2 separate regions of the Homo sapiens genome follow, and region 2 is linked to region 1. The links are contacts of gene promoters, found by promoter capture Hi-C in human tissues and cell types (Jung and others, 2019). All regions are on one chromosome and are shown on one strand. The core of a region is centred on a gene start or on the middle of the fragment in contact, and the rest is flanking DNA. Distances in the headings are between cores, read along the strand shown.

The links. The method cuts DNA at HindIII sites, captures the fragments that hold promoters and counts their contacts. A contact is called where the count stands out against the background at its distance.
Region 2: a fragment that was not itself captured here is called in contact with the fragment with the promoter of CAMK2D in region 1 in 1 of the 25 tissues and cell types used here (dorsolateral prefrontal cortex).

What each region holds. Positions count from the first base shown.
Region 1 is chr4:113,759,295-113,763,813 of GRCh38, forward strand. It overlaps CAMK2D (calcium/calmodulin dependent protein kinase II delta), which reads right to left and starts at 2,444. Exons shown (of 21, transcript NM_001321571.2): 1 at 1,710-2,444; 2 at 26-120. The coding sequence starts at 1,774. RefSeq lists a silencer at 2,231-2,640 and enhancers at 2,634-3,172, 3,173-3,711. The HindIII fragment of the contact is 17,098 bases long and covers 1-4,519 here.
Region 2 is chr4:113,308,993-113,313,511 of GRCh38, forward strand. It overlaps ANK2 (ankyrin 2), which reads left to right. Exons shown (of 46, transcript NM_001148.6): 24 at 2,263-2,407. Among named protein-coding and RNA genes, the nearest start is that of MIR8082, 160 kb to the left of the region's middle. The HindIII fragment of the contact is 4,166 bases long and covers 611-4,519 here.

The DNA.
Region 1 (4,519 bases), core at 1,194-3,693:
AATATATGTGGTTGAAAATACCCACCCCTAGCAGAAAGCTTTTTGGTGTTGATAATTTTGGCAGCATATTCTTGTCCAGTAGGAATTTTCATACATCTTCTCACCACTGAGAATGCCCCCCTGGAAACCAATAATTAGCAGGTCATTAATATAACAGATATAATATTTCATTAAAAATTTATAAAATCTGAGCATTTTTATTGATTTTAGTGGATTGCCAGTGAAGTACAGTAATATCCAGTAAATGAACAATTCTTCCTGGAAACCCAGACTTTCTTTAATGTTGAAGAATAAAAGTAAATTTTATTTAACTGGGAGCACACATTATTAATCAACAAAATGAAAGGAACTGCCAATTATGACCGCTCTTGTTTGCACAAGAAATTTGAAAACATTTTACAGTTCACACTCACAGCACCAAATGCTCTGAGAAAAACCCTGCACAGAACAGAGCAGACGAGGAGCAGCAAAAAAATCTGCTGCCTACTTATTTTGGTAGGAAACAAAAAATTAATGTGGTTCCAAGTAAGTAAACATGACGATTATTTTCATTAAAATATAAATCTTGAGCACATTAGTGTGGTTTAACAAATCCTGGTATGGTGATTTCTCTATGCCTTGTTTTGGACTGGGGGAGGGGAGAGATTTGAATTAAGCTGCTCTTCCGACATATTCTCCATGTTTTAACACCAGACAATATATACATATGTAATTTTTATTACTTTTAAAAATATTTACCTTTCCTTTAATTACAGTATAAACCAACAACATACATATAAACGCACTCCTTTCATAAAAGTAACAGTCGAAACTAGTGAAAGAGGAATTGGGTTTGGGTTCCATGCTACAAAAATCAGCATTCACGGCTTGGCCCCTAGGTCCCTTTGCATAAGTCCTCAGTAGGTCTCCTGCCTCCTTCCCTAACATCTCCAAGTAGTTCTGCCAGTCGGGTGAAGGAGGTGGTTTTACACAATGCTAGGCTACGCTTAAGAGCGCTCTCAGTCTCCAGAGGGCTTTTCCGTTGCCTGTATAAATAAATCCTCCCAGAGAACGCAAAGATGCACACGTAAATCCTAGGAAGAATGATGGTGAGCGGTAATCTGGTGCAAAGAACAACACTGGATATAGGGCAAGGGGTTGGGTTCTGTTGGGTGGCCCTTTTCCTGGACAGAACAACTACTGGATGCGAAATAGACTCTATGCCAAGTTGAACTTTCGGCATCAATAAATATGGCACCGTCTGAGGCTGTGAGTTCTCATCAGTACCTGGGTCATACGGCCGACACGCCGGCTAACCAGGAGGCATCTCTATTTACAGAAAACATGATCTATGTTGCATTTTACATGGGTTCTAATTTCCTCTCCAAACACACATTACACACAGGCGCGCGCGCACACTTCTCAGGATGATAGCTACAACTGCAGAGATCGTAAATTCACTAAGTCTCTCAGTGCAGGAGGGTGGGGGACCGGGAGAAGGTGGGCTAGGGACCATCAAAATGAGCCACAGTTGGAGTAAGGGTCCTACCCCTTCTGTGCTCCCTCCCTTTATTAAGACAGCACCTTCCCCAGAGCTGACAAACCAGGGGCCCTCCTCCCATTCCTCTCCCAAACTCCCTCGCCCCAAGACGGAGGCCGGTGGGTCGGGGGCAACGCGACCCGCCCTCAGCTGGAAAGGGGATATGCGGATGCCGGGCAAAGGTGCTTACTTTCCAAGCTCCTCGAAAAGCTGATACTCGTCCGTGAACCTGGTGCAGGTTGTGGTCGAAGCCATCCTCGGTCCGGGCTGTGCCCTGGCTGGGAGCGCGACGGACCAGAAGCGAGCAGACGCGCGGCTAACCCCGGGACTGGCCCCGCGGCGCTGTCACCCAGGGCCGCTCTTACTTTCCTGGTCCGAAAGTAGCTCGCCCGCGAGGGAGTGTGCGCAGGGGCGGGGCGGGAGGGGAGATGACCAGAAAGGGTGGCGTGGGGTCTCCTCCCCACAGTCCGCCGATCCTCCTCCTCCTGCGGGCCTCGCTTCCTTCTTCTCCACTGGACGCTCCACCCGCCCCTTTTCCAGTCCCTGTCCCCAAATGCAGGGGGTAAAGTACTCAAGAAGAGGGGGCCGGGAAATGGAAAAACAGCCAGGCACGGGACGAGTGGCAAGCAGTTGCGAAACGATCCGCACTGGAGCAGGAGGAGTAGAAGCAGAGGGGAGGGAGTCCGAGGGGGCGGAGGTGGAGTGCAGCGGGGCCGAGGCCGCGGAGCCCAGAGCGGACAGCCTGAGCCCAGCGGCCGCTGTCAGCAGGCTCAGGCGCGGGGCGCGCCGGGGCTCCGACGAGCGTGCGCGCCCGAGGCCGGCTTCCCTCCGGCGGGCGGCAGCGGCTCCGGCGAAGCGAGGCACCTTGGCGGCCTCGCGCTGCTCACGAGCCCGCGCGGCTTCAAGACGGCGCGGCGAGAGAAAGAGCGCTCGGCTCAGGCGAAGCCTCTTCTGCCGTCCCCAGGCCTCCGTCTCCTCCTCCGGCGCCTCCTCCCGCCGCTCCCTCCGCCTGCCAGCACCCCCTCCCTGGCGAAGCCCCCTCCTCGCTGGTCCCACACCTCCCTCTAGCGACTCCAAGCCTGTCCCTTCGTGGATCTCTCGCACTCCCTCCTTTGGTTGCACACACGAGCACACCAGTCTAGGGAGAAACCAGGTGGGTGGAGGAGGATGTGCGGGGGAGAAGACTGGAGGTTTGGGTGAATGAGGCGAGAAGTCACAGTTACCCATTTAAACCCGCACAGAGAAGGCTGCCTCAATCTGGGGCTGACTGAGCGGGAAGATGCAGGGCAACTCGAGGATGGCCCGGGGCAGCCGCCCTGGGTCGCGGAAGCCCACGCCCCTGTTTTGGGCGCCGGGCAGCAGGGACTTCTCCAGGCCGGTTCCCGGGCCACGACACCCGGTGGGCCGAGCAAGGGAGAGCAACCACTTCATCTCCACGCCGCTCAGAGTTGACACAGCAGGGGCCGGATGTGGGCTGTTCACTGCTCTCAGAGAAGGGTCCCAACCCTTCCCACAGCCACCAGCGACTGTCGGGGCAAAACCCAGCCTCAGCAGGGTTCACTGCGTCGCCAGCTCCCCAGAACCGGGCGCAGGTTTTCTCCCTCCCCCGCAGCCCCTTCTGCAAGGGGCAATGACGGCCCCTGAGCCACATTACACTTGCCACCTCCAGGCCCACCTCCCCCGCTGTTTTCCAGGATGGTGGCTGAGACTCTGGCAATCCCCAAAGGCCTTTGCTTTGGCTGTGAACGTTAAAAGAATGAAAGCAAAAACTCCGCCGCACAACCACACCTTCCCTTCCCTTCTGAGTAACTCCCCTGCAACCTCAGTAAGTTCTGATAGTAAGGCGAATTCTCGCGATATTTCCCACTCTGGCGGTCAGGGGGAGGTAGTAGGAAGGCTGGGTGTCGGTCACGCGACCCGGCGGGGGCTGACGTCATTCACATCACGTGAACACGTCTAGACTGTTTCGCTTTGCAAAGGGAAAAAAGAAAAGGGGCCGTCGTGTGTGCTTTTGCTTTCAGCCAGATAGTGGCAATTGAGTGCACTCCGTAAATGGCTATCTGGAAAAACCATTTAGCAGTTCAAGAATGTGTCCTTCCCTTTAGCATATCTGCCATTGTTTTCAGTAGGAGGAAAAAAAAAGTATGCATTACGATTTAAAATAGATAAACTGCTGCCGATTGCTAGAACAACTTCTGGGCCCTCTTTCCAGTTCTCCTTAATGAAACTATGCAATTGCAAATTTAGCCGCAGACCAAAAACAGCGTTATGGACGGTCTTTTTCAAATTACTGCCAATTGTTCTACAGCACGGGACTATAAAAACCTTGCAATCCTATTGCTAATTTGCTCGTGGTATTACTTCATAGACAAAATTTCACAGCTGAAAGATAAAAGATAATTTGCAGACACAAGAGAATCTAAGATTTAAAGGCGCTGCTGCTTGCTCCCAAAGACTGCTATTAATTAATGTTACTTTGTGGTCATAGATAATCCTAATTCCTTTTTTCCTGATCTGGGGAACGCTTCTGCCAATGAGTGAGCTTTTTACTGAAGTACTAAAAATGTTCACAAATTTTAACGTTTATTACAACAAAATTGAAGTTCGTATGTGTTTTGATTCCCAGCCGTAAAAGGCAAGAAATAACTGTGTAAAATGTAGTGCTATAGAAAAAGATGATACCAAGAACTGCATAAAAGAAACATGGTCTCTAAATATTAATAATTGGGCTATAAATTGAAAAAAAAAACACAATTTGGTCTTGGCTAAAGATTTGTAATATCTGAACTATTTAGCAATGTGGCTCCAAGGTGATAATGAAATAATTTAATATTTTTCCCTGAATCTAAGAATGAAACAGAAAAAGTAAAATTAAAACAATAAAGGTAATATAAAAATTTACATCTGGGAAGAAAATTGTTTCTTAAATATTCAAGTAATGAAGTCTACATAATTACAGTATTTATCTCAGTTATTTAAACTACCAATAATTGTAAATGG
Region 2 (4,519 bases), core at 1,444-3,943, 450 kb before region 1:
ACATTTAAAGCTTTGATTTGTATGCAGAATTTTCCAGTTATAGACCAACCTGGGTAATTTTTTTCAAAGTGATTTTTCACATTCTGTTAATTTCTACTTGCTTTCACTTTCCATCTTTCACTGCTGGTATGTATTACTGAATAGCATGATTTATATACATCTAACTGTCTTCGAGAGAAATTTTATATAGCACTGACAAGATTAGTCCCCAGAGAGGTGGCTTTCCAGCTAATGCCAACACTGGGATAGGATTTAGACACTGCTTTCAGCATTTAGGGACTTTGCTTCTTTGGGTCATTTCTCTCTGAGACATAATCAAGACATTGACTATATACCTAGGGCCACCCCAGGTGTATATGAAAATGCTAAAAATTCACTTTAAGTAGCACTGAACCTAGCAGCAGCCTTAGGCAGATAGCATCATAACAAAACCATCAAAATGCACAAAATAAGGGAGAATGTAAAGGACATTCACTTAGGAACTCAGCGTAATCAGAGGTGGTTTTTTTGTTTGTTTGTTTGCTTGTTTGTTTTTTGTTTTTTTGAGACAGGGTCTTACTCTGTTGCCCAGGCTGTAGTGCAGTGGTGCGATCATGGCTCACTGTAGCCTCGACTTCCTGGGCTCAAGCGATTCTCCCACTTCAGCCTCCCAAGTAGCTGGGAATACAGGTGCATGACACCATGACCTGCTAATTTGAAAAAAATTTTTAGTAGAGATGAGGTCTAGGTGTTACTCAGGCTGGTTTCAAACTTCTGAGCTCAAGCAATCCTCCTGCCTCGGCCTCCCAAAGTGCTGGGATTACAGGTGTGAACCACTGTACCTGGCCAATCAGAAGTTTTAAATTTTTGTCTTGTCACCAGAGTCATAAAATTTTGATATATTTGATTAAAAATATATTCTTCAAATGTCTTTCTATTTTCTAATAAGATTCTATTCACACGAGAGAGGAAGGCTGGGTTCCTGTGGTTGATTTGCATGTTCTACCTGATCAAATGCTGTGTCTTGCTCCTTCAGATGTAGAGTCATTCCAGCCAGACTCTTCTTTTATCTTTACCTTTCTCACCTTTTCTTTCTTCACCCTTATAAACCTTCCTCACCCTACCAAGGTGTAACAAGAGGGAAAGATAAATGGGAGAAATAAGAAAATTTGAAATGTAGGACCCATTTTATTAAGGAGTTTTGTGGATTTTTAAGGACCAAGAAGTTAAAGCTTATTTTGAGTTGTATTTATTCCCTGTGACCATCTTGGCTGCTGAGAGACAGCGGTGAGAACTGGCAAATTAGGAGAAGCAAGATGAAATGCAAAAGCAAACAGACTCTGAGGAGGGACAGGATGCTCGAACCTAAGTAGTATTCAGAATTTGGTGCTAGAATTTTGGGGAGTAGGGGTGGGGTAGAAGACTGGGGGAAAGAAAGAGTATATAAGCAGACTTTTTTTTTTTTAGATGAGTCTCACTCTGTCACCCAGGCTGGAGTGCAGTGGTGCAATCTCGGCTCACTGCAACCTTCATCTCCTGGGTTCAAGCAATTCTCCTGCCTCAGCCTCCCAAGTAGCTGGGACTACAGGCATGTGCCACCACGCCCAGCTAATTTTTGTATTTTTAGTAGAGACAGGGTTTCACTATATTGGTCAGGCTGGTCTTGAACTCCTGACCTCAGGTGATCCACCTGCCTCAGCCTCCCAAAGGGTTGGGATTACAGGCATGAGCCACTGCAGCCAGCCAACTTTTAGTTTTTAAATAATCTTTTTGGCTTTTTGCAAGGGATCCATAATATGCAGCTTGCACTGTGCTTGTATTATGTGACAGATTCTGTATTAAACCATCCCCTTCACCTTTTCATGAATAAGAATAGATGTAGTCTCCTGAAATGTTAATAAAACTCATATTTTTTTCTGAAAGTAATGTAGGCTTAATCCTAAAGCAGACTATGCCTGTGTTTTGATAAATCTATAATTAGAATTCATCTTAGAAGTTTTTTCTCCTAGAAGTAAACAACAAGGGATATCCAAACTTAATATTAAAAGAATTAAAATTCAAGTGATTACTTCTTCTTGGTAAGTACTAAGAAAATGAATCAAATGTTGTTTCTCTAAGTTTTAGCACTGTATAGTTGTTTGCTGGTGTTCTGTGTTCTAGTGTGCAGTGCAGTTTCATCAAGGTCAAGGTAATGATGTTGATGCATTTCACAATCATGACCATATGTTGTAGTTGATATTACATTCAAGAAATAATCCTGCTTCTTCCTCTGATTGTTTCAAGGTGATGACACAATGACTGGTGATGGGGGAGAATACCTTAGGCCTGAGGACCTAAAAGAACTGGGTGATGACTCACTACCCAGCAGTCAGTTCCTGGATGGTATGAATTACCTGCGATACAGCTTGGAGGGAGGACGATCTGACAGGTATCTCATAAAACTTATAATTGATGTCAGCCAGAAGTATGTGCAACATATTTTTTATGATGATGATAAAAATGTAGATGCAATTATTGAGCATTTAATAGGTACCTTATTAATCTCAGCAGTTAGCATGTTATGTTTTTCCATTGTCTAACAACTTTAAGATATGCCCATTTTAAAGAACAGAAAACTGAGGCCTAGAAAGATCAAATAACTTGGTAAAATCAAACAACTAGTAAGAAGCAAAACCATCATAAATAAGAGTTCTCATCATTTAAATGTGGCGTTTTTCATCACTGGCCACTTTTTCCTCAAATTAAAAGGACAATTTTGCCTTATAGACATTCTTACTGAGCGGCATCACAGACACTTTGGATACTCTTCTGCCCCCACTTTTTTGTTAGTAACATAATTTCTGTGAATAAAGTATGTTGTGAGGCTGAATTAAAAAGAAATACATTCAGAACAAAACTGCCTGGAACTGACTTTTTCATGAAAAAGAATCCGAACAGAATCCCACGAGAGCCTGGATACAAGAAACAATCGGAGCAAAATCTGAGGGAGCCCAGTGTTAATAGGCAAATCTGGGAGGTTTATATAATATTCTGAGATATATGATCAGTGCTACTTTTTGTTATTATTAACTAGTACAACTGGCACTTGTTATTTTTTTATGCAAGTTAGGTAATGACATTCTGTGGTTCCTCATTGAAATTATGACTGATAAGTTGGGCCATGAATATGGATGTCATAGCTGGGTGCAGTGGCTGGGTGCTGAGACCTGTAGTCTCAGCTACTTGGGAGGCTGAGTTGGAGGATCCCTTGAGCCCCAGAATTCAAGTCCAGGCTGGGCAACATAGCAAGACACTGTCTCTTGAGACAGAAAAAAAAAAAAAGAAAAGAAAAGAAAGTTTGTCCACGTAGTGTAATGTGTTCTGCTAATCAATAATCTCAGGTTTATAGTTTTAAAGTTGGCACTATTGTAAGCTATTTTATGAATATCCAGCATAGAGTCTAAGAAATAAATACCTTAAAGTCTAAGTGAATAATTAGCAAAAACAAACTTTTCTTGGGCTTTTTCCTTGAGCACCAATGCCCCCTTCCACTATCTTTTTTTTTTTCTTTAGCAAGATAGGCTTGTTAACTTCATAGTCTAATGGGATGGGAGAGGGCATAAGCTAGTGGTACACATAGAGTGCCACTGAAGCCCTGAGGCTCTAGCTTCCTGGAGCAGATGAAACCAAACTGAGACCAAATAATGAGTAACAATGGTGAGGAAAAGTGGGGAGGGCATTTGAAGCCTTAACAAGGTCTTGAGCAAAGGCTCGCAGGGTGTATGAGAAAAAAGGGAATGCAGTGTTGCTGGAGTGTAAGTGTGGAGGACGGGAATTATATTTGCATAGCAGGGGGATCCTTCTGCCAGTGAGAAAGAGGATGAATTTTAAAGGAGAGTTTCAAAGGGCTAAACCTGGAGATTGCAGCCACTCTGAGAAGCAATTGTTCGTGTATTAACTGCAGGTGTCATGAGAGGACTAGCACTCTAACCTTGGTGATAGTCATGGAGAGAATTTCAGAAATAAAAAATTTGAGAGTTTTTTGAGACATGTGTAGGAGGCAAAACTAGTCAGATTTCATGATGAATTTCATGATTTAGGTGAGGAAGGGGAAGGAGATTAAATTGAGTCCTTGGCTTCAATAACTTAGATAAAGGGTGCTCCCAGAAGGAGGAGCCCCTCTGGAGTTCCATAAGCTGTCTTGATACATTGGTAGATTTGGACCTTATACTCTGAGATTCTTAAAAGATTTCAAATTTGAATAAAGTGTAATGTTCATGGCATTGCACAAATTGATGATAATCTATGAACAGTCTTATTACTGTCAACCATAAAGCTTCTATTTTTTGCATGGTCTCCCTTATTAAGAATAAGTACTTGATTTGATCTGTTTTTCTTCTTTCAAAGTACTTAGGTTGAGGAAGAATTTAGAATAATACTTTCTATAAAACAGGATGGATGGCTTGAATGCTCCTGCTTAAATCCAATACTTTTCAGCACATAAGGTCAGGGGACATGAAACAAACAAGACATACTGTGTTCTCCAGGTCTCCACTTGCAT